Regions from separate parts of the Homo sapiens genome. Here all the other regions are linked to region 2. The links are contacts of gene promoters, found by promoter capture Hi-C in blood cells and fetal thymus (Javierre and others, 2016). All regions are on one chromosome and are shown on one strand. The core of a region is centred on a gene start or on the middle of the fragment in contact, and the rest is flanking DNA. Distances in the headings are between cores, read along the strand shown.

What was found. Contacts are between HindIII fragments. The CHiCAGO score rates a contact against its expected background, and 5 or more counts as called.
Region 1: a fragment that was not itself captured here is called in contact with the fragment with the promoter of KANSL1 in region 2 in 17 of 17 cell types (M0 macrophages, monocytes, M2 macrophages and 14 more); the score reaches 77.6 in M0 macrophages.
Region 3: a fragment that was not itself captured here is called in contact with the fragment with the promoter of KANSL1 in region 2 in 1 of 17 cell types (M2 macrophages); the score reaches 9.1 in M2 macrophages.

What each region holds. Positions count from the first base shown.
Region 1 is chr17:64,922,857-64,926,311 of GRCh38, reverse strand. No RefSeq gene overlaps it. Among named protein-coding and RNA genes, the nearest start is that of LRRC37A3, 5.1 kb to the right of the region's middle. The HindIII fragment of the contact is 2,912 bases long and covers 1-2,711 here.
Region 2 is chr17:46,191,380-46,194,826 of GRCh38, reverse strand. KANSL1 (KAT8 regulatory NSL complex subunit 1) reads left to right here and starts at 1,398. Exons shown (of 15, transcript NM_015443.4): 1 at 1,398-2,004. KANSL1-AS1 (KANSL1 antisense RNA 1) reads right to left here and starts at 1,254. Exons shown (of 2, transcript NR_034172.1): 1 at 1,089-1,254. The HindIII fragment of the contact is 13,741 bases long and covers 1-3,447 here.
Region 3 is chr17:64,906,958-64,910,281 of GRCh38, reverse strand. The region is part of intron 2 of LRRC37A3 (leucine rich repeat containing 37 member A3); the gene reads left to right. LOC105376844 (a long non-coding RNA gene) reads right to left here. Exons shown (of 4, transcript XR_934912.4): 4 at 517-687. Among named protein-coding and RNA genes, the nearest start is that of LRRC37A3, 11 kb to the left of the region's middle. The HindIII fragment of the contact is 1,909 bases long and covers 544-2,452 here.

The sequences.
Region 1 (3,455 bases), core at 6-2,505, about 19 Mb before region 2:
ACAGACGTGCACCACCAGGCCAGGCTTTTTTTTTTTTTTTTTTTTTTTTTTTGACAGAGCCTTGCTCTATCACCCAGGCTGGAGTACAGTGGCATGATCTCGGCTCACTGCAACCTCTGTCTCCTGGCTTCAAGCAATTCTCTTGCCTCAGCTTCCCAAGTAGCTGGGATTACAGGTGTGTGCCACCACATCTGGCTAATTTTTGCATTTTTGGTTGTGCCACGTTGGCCAGGCTGGTCTCAAACTCCTGACTTCAGGCAATCCACCTGCCTTTGCCTCCCAAAGTCCTGAGATTACAGGTGTGAGCCACAGGGCCCAGCCTCTTTTCATATTTTTAAAAAAAAAGTTTTAACGAGCAGTGAGGACGACCAGAGGTCACTTTCGTCACCATCTTGGTTTTGGTCGGCTTCTTTACTGCATCTTGTTTTTTCTTTTTTTTTTTAAGACTGGGTCTCACTCTGTCACCCAGGTTAGAGTGTAGTGGCACAATCTCGGCTCAGTGTACCCTGCACCTCCCAGGCTCAAGTGATCCTCCCACCTCAGCCTCCCAAGTAACTAGGACCACAGGCACGTGCCACCAAGCTCAGCTAATTTTTTGTATTTTTGTTAGAGACAGGGTTTCACCATGTTTGCCAGGCTGGCCTTGAACTCCTGACCTCAGGTGACCCACCTCAGCCTCCCAAAGTGCTGGGATTACAAGCGTGAGTCTCTGTGTCTGGCCAACATACTATTGTCTCAATATGCATTTTGCCATACTTTTTAAGTGCATCTCTTCTGCTATCCTGTAGTACAACTTACTCTTGGAAATGATCAAAGCAAACTATATTACCCTAGGGACAAACCCATTGTGATTGGCATCCACGAACAAACTTGGTGTAAAGAAATCATATCTACGACCAAGAGGATTTCTTTCTCATTTGGAGATAAGAGTTTCACTTTGTCACCCTGCCTGGACTGCAGTGACATAAACACGGCTTGCTATAGCCTTGACCTGCCAGGCTCAAGTGATCCTCCTGACTTAACCCCTCAAGTAGCTACAGGTGCTCACCACCATGCCCAGCTACTTTTTTTTTTTGTAGAGATGGAGTCTTGCTGTGTTGCCCAGGTAACTTACCTCCTGAGCTCAAGTGATCCGCCTGCCTTTGCCTCCCAAAGTGCTGGGATGACAGTTATGAGCCACCTGTACCCAGCCATAAGAATATTTCTTAAAATCTGACTTAAAATTTTTTTAAAAATTCTTTTAGAGATAGGGTTTCACCATGTTGGCTAGGCTGGTCTCGAACTCCCGACCTCAGGTGGTCTGCCCACCTTGGCCTCCCAAAGTGCTTGGATTACAAGTGTGAGCCACTGTGCCCAGCCAAAATCTGACACATTTATAAATTTCTACAATAATTTTAAATACCAAAAATATTCCCAAAACGTTTCATCATGATTATTTTTCTTCCCAAATCTTATAGTCTCTCAGAAAAATAACTTAGCCCACGTTTCCTTTAAAGAGTTTTTAATTTTTTTAATGAAGGGCCGAATTAATTTTATTTTTCCTTCTTTAAAAAAATTCGTCCAGCACAGTGGCTCACACCTGTAATCCCAGCAGTTTGGGAGGCCGAGGGCGGAAGATCACTTGCGTCCAGGAGCTCAAGACCAGCCTGGACACATGGTGAAACCCCATCTCTACTAAAAAATACAAAAATGAGCCAGGTGTGGTGACGCATGCCTGTAGTGCCAACTACTTGGAAGGCTGAGGTTGGAGGCTCCCTTAAGCCTGAGAGGTGAAGACTTCAGTGAGCTGTGATGGCACCACTGTGCTCCAATGTAGATGACAAAGTGAGACCCTGTTAAAACAAAACAAAACAAAACTTTTTTTTGGAGATAGGGCCTCACTTGATCGCCCCGGCTAGAGTACAGTGGTGCTATCATGGCTCACTGCAGGGTCGACCTCCTGGGGTCAAGCAGTCCCCTGGCCTCAGCCTCGCCAAGTAGCTGAGACTACAGGTGTGCATCACAACACCCAGCAAATTCCTTTTTGTAGAAACAGGGTTTTGCCATGTTGCCCAGGCTGGTCTCAAAATCCTGGCCTCAAGTGATCCACCCACCTCAGCCTTTTAGAATGCTGGGATTACAGGCTGTGAGCCACAACTCTCTTGGCCTATAAATGATAATTTAAGTGAATCTCTGAAGCTACAGTTTTTTGTTTCGACATGGAGTCTCGCTCTGTCGTGCAGTGGCATGATCTCGGCTCACTGCAACCTCCGCCTTCTGGGTTCAAGTGATTCTCCTCCCTCAGCCTCCCAAGCAGCTGGGATTACAGGTGCCTGCCACCATGCCTGGCTAATTTTTGCATTTTTAGTACAGACGGGGTTTCGCCCTGTTAGCCAGGCTGGTCTCGATCTCCTGACCTCAAGTGATCCTTTCACCTCAGCCTCCCAAAGTGCTGGGATTATAGGCATGAGCCATTTCGCCCAGCCTCTGAAGCTATAGTTTTATAGATTCTAAAGCAGAGACTTCATATAGCTGTCTATGAAAAGCCAAAAACAAACAAAAAACCCACAGAAAAACCTGATTCCCCACGCCAAAATTTCAAGGATTTGCCTAAAGGTAAGGTCCATCTGTACCTGAAATAAAGTTTGCTGTGCCTCTTTTTTTGCAGGGTCACCCAGCCCTATGCACCAATTATACTAGTAACAATCATTACATGAGTACCTCAGGAAGCTTTTAAATATATCACAAATATTTTACCAAATAAACCTGAATGGCCCTGGTTTAATGAAACTGTTTCTCTGTCTATAGACTATCTAGTCTTATAAAGTCAAAAGAGAAGCAATGTGACAAATTATTCAACAGCCCTTCTCTATTTATAGAGAGAGACTGAACTTCTTCCTTGGTTAGAAAGAAAACCTTGAGTTTCATTTCCTAGTTCATATATTTTTATAACATCGTGGGACAGATTTTGGGAAAACCAAGATGGTATAGCGGGCGCACACTTTGATCCTCCCTCTCCCTTCAAGAACATACAAGTGAGAGTAAAATATAAAAAAGAGAAATTGAAAAGACATAGTCATGCTTAAATAAGTTACAACAATCTCAACGGAACAGACACAAAACTGTGAGCAGGACTAAAACTGCAGGCCTTCTAGACTCCAGATGCAGAAGGAGGAAGTGGTGGCTGAACACTAACAGTATGAGTTTCTCGGGGATAAGGGAGGCTAACATGCTGTGTGTGAGGCAGTGATAAGCGCTGGCTCCCTGCTGGAAGTTAAGGGTTGACTGGGCTACACTGGGCTTCAGGAGAGAAGAAAACAACACTCCTCTCACTCAAAATAAGCTTGCAAAATTCAAATGTTTGAAAATGAAAATGTGTAATATGAAAAAAAGATAACCAGGGCCCATACGGTGGCTCATGCCTATAATCCCAGCACTTTGGGAAGTCAAGGAAGGAAGATCACTTGCTTGAGCCC
Region 2 (3,447 bases), core at 149-2,648:
CTGTAACGACTGTGAGGGTGTTTTTTGATAAGCAGAAGTGACGTATAATGCCGGATATTGGTTCTGGTAAGCCACAAAAAAGTGTGAAGCATTTTGCGTCTTCCTTTTTGGTAGTAGAGCATACATACCCTTCTTATCTGCCGAATTTGATGATTTAATGATTTGAACGATTTTTTCTTCAGTCATTTAAGCCAGTTTTGATGAATCCTAGATTAGTCTTTTAAATCTCAAGATACTCCACTCATCTTTTGGCAACTTTAAAGGGTGGTAGAATTACACTTTGTGTGACACTTTGTATTACATTATGTTTATGAATTCTTTAAGTCTAGGAAAGGTTCCATTATTTTAAAGGTCCTATTTTGGGGACAATATAAAGTTCTGTACTGATAAACTGGTCATGAGAAATGATAAGGTGCCACCACTTTAAACCAACTCTGGTAACGAGGTGGGAAGTTGGCTTTTTGTTGTGAGACTTGTGTTTCTTTATGGAGTTCTTTGTTAAACTTTTAGCATGGCAGTGAACTTCCTTTTGGTGGCGGCAGGAAGCATAAATACTCATTGTGTAATGCCATTTGCCTGTTTTGGCGGATCTGCCAAGCCATGACACCCAAAACAAGACGCGTGTTTCTTCACGAAAACTACAGTTCCCAGCGGGCCCGGCGCCGGCGGGGCCATCACTTCCCCTCTGGCTCCCGGCTGTCCCTTCCCGGGCTGGCCCGGCGCGGGCCCTGGCTGGGGCCTGCGCAGTGACTACGTGCACCCTCCCCACCCCGCCCAACTCTGGTGGCTGCGGAGCGCGGTGCTGGGGCTAGTGCCCAGCCGTGCTGCAGTATACGGAGGCTGGCTGCTAGGGACAAAGGGCGGGCGGCGGAAGCCGCTTCACTGGTCAGGGAGCTTTCTGCAGGGTTAGCCTTGGAATAGTGTGGTGCCGACGGCCTTACCCTCTTTACTACACAGTGCAAACAGTTCCTCGCTCACGTCCTCTCGCTCCGCGGCGCCGGCCCGCCCTGCCCCTCAACTGGCGAGCCGCACCGCCGGCCCCAGCACGGAGGGCATGTGACGGCGTCAGTGCCTCAGGTTAGACTCACCTCGGCCGCAGCGAGGGCTGGCTTCCCCCTGCCGCAGTGCTGCGTGCCGTCGCCGCACGTCCGGGGCAGCTGGGGCCGGGCGCCGCGGCCTCCGCAGATGGAGGTACAAAAACATCGGCCACGGCGAGGAGCCATGACTGAGGCGGCGGCGGCCGCGCCTCCTGGCGGCCCGCGGGGGCGGCGCGGCGGGCGCCCCCTGGCGGCGCGCCGGGGTGGAGCGGCCCTTCGCCGCCGCAGCCGCAGCCGGCGGAGGCGCTGCTGTCCCTCCTCCCCGTGTCCCCGGCGCTCGCCCGCTTGCTCGCTCGCTCCATTCTCCCTCCGCTTCAGATTAAAGGGGGGGAGGGAAAAGGAGCTCGGCCGCCATTTTCCCAGTGCCGCCGCCACCGCCGCCACCGCTCGCCGAGCCGGCGGGAGAACCGAGCACCGTAGCGAAGCCGACTCGTCTCGCCGCGGCGGCGCGGGGGGCGGCTGAAGCGCGCTCCCCGGCTGGAAAGAGGCGGCCGGGGGTGGCGGCCTGGGTGCGGGTTCGGGCTGCAGACGGCGGTGCTTGTTTGTGCGGGGCGGGGGGGCGGTTTCACTCTCTGCCCCCGCCCGCCCGCCCTCCCGGCCGGGCTGCGGTCTCCAGCCGTGCTCGGGCCCCGTCGGTGCGGAGCAAGGCCGGGAAAGGGCCCGAAAGAGAAGAAAAAGCAGCCGCTCCCCGCCGCCGCCTTCCCCTCCCCCTCTGCCTCGCCCCCCCGCCCGGAAAGTCAGGGCGGCTCCGGGCGTCGGGGGGAGGAGAGCGGCGGGCCCGGGCCGGAGCCGCCGTCGCGCGCCCCCGCCCGCCGCTGGCCCTCGGCGCCCAGGCCGGGGGGCTGTTTGCAAACTGCGCCCATTTTGTGGGGCTGAATCCGCCCGGGCTACGCTCCTCCATCACGTGGTAGGTGCTGCTGCTGCTCCTCTCCTCCTCCTCCTGCTGCCCTTTCTCCTTCTCCTCGCTCTCCCTGTGGCTCCCATTTCTCTCTCTCTTTGTTAGTTGTAACTAGAAAGGCAGGGCAGGGTAGAAAAATCCCCCGGAACTTTAAATGGCCTCTCCGGGCTTCCCTGCTGCGGGTCCGGGCTGGGAGTCGCCCCAAGGGCGGGGGTGTGCGGGGGCCCTTCCCCAGGAGCTGCCGCCTCGTTCGCCAGCTTTTCCTTTGGCGTTCTATTTAAAAAGGCGGCCTGAAGAACATGATTTATTCCCGTAAAAGAACCCCCCAAACAAACTCTGGCTCTCGCCTTGAACTTCTCTTGACTGCAAAAGGCCTTTCTCTGCTCGAAACACACATCTTGGCGCGTTGCACGGTTTGTATCACAACTCTGATTGTTTCATTTATTATTTTTGTTGCCTGTAAATTCAGGTCACTTACGTTTTCAGATGTAGTCTCCCTCAGGCGGACTTTTTTTTTTTTTAAACTAAAGAGGAAGAGGGATTTATTTGCTTTTAAGTGAGTTGGAATCTTAACTGCCTTTTTGGGGGCCTGTTTTCCGGCTGACGGTCTTTTGATTCTTAGCAAATAGTTTGTTTTCCATACGATAAACAGCGCTACTCCCGTGTCTTACTTAAAAATCCTCGTTTTCCAATGTTGGAATCCCAATGTGGATTTATAGAGAAACGTGCTACTTAACTATTGCTTACTGATTGCTTTAGGGGAGAAGGGGTGACATGATGGCGCCACTTTAAATTGCTCTCTTTCCTTTTCCTCGGTCCCCCCCACCCCCCTTTATCCTGGAGGTCACTGGAGCATTTTCTGTGACTTATTAATAAAACTGTACTTGAGGGTGTTAGAAGCACAACTCGTAGGGGCTGGAGTTTAGTGCTCCTAGGGTCGGCAGACCGACTGCCGCGGTCCCCAAAGTTCCGAGAAATCTCTCTTCCTCCAGCCTCGCCTCCCTCCCCTCCATTCACAATCCTGGTGTTGCCATCTCCTTTGTCACGTGGCTAGCAATCATTGTGTTTTTTTGTTTGTTTTGGGGTGTGTGTTTATATTTTTAAATTGCAGCTCAGAGGAACCTTTCCTTTTCGCTTTGGAGAGATCAAAACGTTTTACTTGTTTTAGTTTTAGAGTCGGAGAACATTTTAAAATAAACGATAAAATTACATAATCTTTGCCTTGCATAATCATGATATAGTTATAGATTGCTACTGAACTTCATTTTGAAAGTCCTTTCAAGTATGGAAACTAGTACGTTAGAATATGTTTTCCATTTGTCAGGATGGTCTGTAATTTCTGTTTTCTCTGCTTTTTGGGTCAGTTAAAGGACCACTATTTACAAAGGCTTAAGTGGGTGTGTTTTCCCTTTCCCCTTTCCTATAGGCTCTACTTGGTTCCTTTTCTAGCAT
Region 3 (3,324 bases), core at 249-2,748, about 19 Mb before region 2:
GCACAGCAAAGGGTAGTAGAGGTGACATTTGAGCCCAGCCTTGAAAACTGTCTAGGATTTCTCAGCATTTCAGCAAAGTAAGGCAATTTCTGTCTAAAATATATAGGCAAAGTTTTTATTAAAAATACGAGAAATTAATTAAATAACAGATTATGACCACAATGCAGATTTAAAAACTAAGGTATGATGAGTGCCGTTGACCGGTTCATCCAGACAGTTCAGAGAACAGAACATCCATGTAGATCCTTCTTGTATTACAGAATACAAAGGAGCGGAAAATTTTGCCTCAGTAACTGCCAGGTCATTCTAATTAAAGTACCTATACATTGTAATATAATTCCTCCATTAAGGTAACAGCCAATCAGGTGGTACAGAGTCTGTGCCATTCAGTCAAGAAATTCACTCCCTTAACCTAGACTGTGCTGGAAATTCATTGACAAATTTTGTTCTTTGGTTCTCCATTTTTCTTCAGAATTCATGCAGACCACTTGACTTCCTTAGCAGTTTCTTTTGTGGGCGTACATTAATGTCTTTGGTTAAGCTTCAGCTTCCGTTTGCATCAATCCTGTTGTAATCGTGCCTCCTGAGGCATCTTTTTTGCTTCCCTTGCATCAGTTTCCAAAATCCTACTTTCTGCTTGGTAAGGGGAGTATCCATTTTCTTTAAAGCAGTGGTTTTCAAACTTGCCTGCACATCAGAATTATTTGGGGAGAAGGATAAAAATACAGATTACTGAGCTTCACCTGGGATTCTGTAGATTTGAGTTGCATTTGGGATTACTTTAAACAATTTACCAGATGATTTTTGTGGCACCTCCACTTCAGTTTTAGGAAGGACTGTTTCAAGGCAGCTTTTCAAACTTTAATGACCATAGAAATCACCTGAAGATTGTGAGAAACTGCAGATCCTGATTTAGTAGGCCTGGGTTTAGGCCTGAGGTTCTGAATTTCTCTGAAATGTGATAATAGCAAATCCCTCGTTGAGTAGCAAGGTTGTTTTTTGTTTTTTTTCTTTTTTTTCCAATATCTTCATGACATTCAATGAGTAGCAAAGTTCGAAGATAACTTCTGGAATTTCATCTAATGTGTATTAATTTTTACTCATCTGGATCTTAGGGGAAATAACCTATCAGATTATAGGGAAGTGTTTCTCAAAGTATGGTTCCCCAAACAGCACAACCTGGGAATTGTTAGAAATGCAAGTTCTGGGCTGGGCACTGTGGCTCATGCCTGTAATCCCAGCACTTTGGGAGGCTGAAGCGGGTGGATCACCTGAGGTGAGGAGTTTGAGACCAGCCTGGCTAACATGGTGAGACCCCGTCTCTATTAAAAATACAAAAAAAATTAGCTGGGCATGGTGGTGGTACTTCTTAAAATATTTTTAGAGAGGCAGAGTATCCCTGTGTTGCCCAGGCTGGTCTCTAAATCCTGACCTCAAGCAATCCTCCTGCCTCAGCCTCTTAAGTAGCTAGGTACAAGCCACCATGCCCAGCTATATTGACTTGTTTTTGAGACGGAGTCTCTGTTGCCTAGGCTGGAGGGCAGTGGTGCGATCTTGGCTCACTGCAACCTCCGCCTCCCGGGTTCACGTGATTCTCCTGCCTCGGCCTCCTGAGTAGCTGGGACCACAGGCATGCACCACCATGCCTGGCTAATTTTTGTATTTTAGTAGAGATGGAGTTTCACCATGTTGGCCAGACTGGTCTTGAACTCCTGACCTCAAATGATCCACCCCCGCCTTCGCCTCCCCAAAGGTGCTGAGACTACAGGTGTGGGCCACCACGCCTGACCATATATTTACCTTTATGTGAATTTAAGATGTGTGGGTGTGACCAAGTCGTCTGCCGGCTGTTATATAAAGGAGACTTTATCATCAACATGCTCATCATCAGTCACAAACTGCCTATTTGGAACTCCCTTCAGTTCTCAGAGGATGGAAACATTCTTTAAGCGGCCTTGTAGAAATCCTATTCCATGTTAATATGCCAACCAATTTTACTTTCCCAGAGCCACAGAAGGATATCTCATTGTATGCCTCAATTCAATCACCTTTCCATTTTCAAGGACCGATTTCAATTCCTGATTGGCTACTTGATCTGACTGCTTCCTGCTAATCTTGTTGCCTATTGTCTATATATATTCCATTTCTCATTGAATTAACCTTGATCAAATCTGAGAACTCTGCTTAGTAATGACTCCAGGTATACTATACCCACTTTTGTAGCTTATTCAACACCCTCTTCAATCCTGGTTCCACTTCCTGTGACTGAAATGATTACCTGTGGAATATTCTTCAACTTTTGGACTATGATGTGTTTCTAACCTGTGACCATTTCACATAGCCACTCAAATATGGTAAAGGTACGGTAAAGATGATGAAACAGTTACTTGGTATCATTTTGTAAGTAATGAGTTTTTAGTGTGCTTTGGACCTTGAGACCACTTCATAAGCTTTAGATTTTGAGAATTTCACAGCATAAAGCTCATCGCTGATGCAGTAATGAAGGAAATGTTCTACAAGTTAATAGATGAGTGAGAGGAGAGGGCATTCATATTAGATTTATTTACTTACTGAACTCAGAGCCTTGGGTTACTGCTTGACCCCCACTGTTATCTAGTTTAAGGGTCCTTTTATTTTTTGTTTTTTTGAGGTGGAGTTTCACTCTTGTTCCCCAGGCTAGAGTGCAATGGCCCGGTCTCTGCTCACTGCAATCTCCGCCTCCCAGATTCTCCTGTCTCAGCCTCCCAAGTAGCTGGGATTATAGGTACCCACCACCACGCCCTGCTAGTTTTTGTATTTTTAGTAGAGACAGGGTTTCACCATATTGGTCAGGCTGGTCTCGAACTCCTGACCTCAGGCAGTCTGCCCACCTCAGCCTCCCAAAGTGCTGGGATTACAGGCATGAGCAACTGCTCCTGGCCTTAAGTGTTCTTTTCTACTTTAGCACATGCACCTAGTTCCTGTCTTTTTTGGTTTTTATAAATACAGAAAAGAGAATAATGTTTTAAAATCAAGGAAAGGCCTAAGGCATCTGTGAGGGTTTTTTGTTTTTGTTTTTGTTTCAGTGAAATGAAGGGAAATGGTCGCCAGCAAGAACTGTGGCAACGTTATCCAAGGTGACAACTGTCTGTACCACCCAGGGGCTTAGAGCCCTTCTGAAGTTTCCTAGATGTTCCGAAAGTCTCCACTGTGACTCATGATACAGGCTGGTCTCCGTGGTAGCACTCAACGTTTAAAAATTAGTCTTCATTGCCAGGCGTGGTGGCTCACGCCTGTAATCCCAGCACTTTGGGAGGCTGAGGTGGGTGGATCCCGATGTCAGGA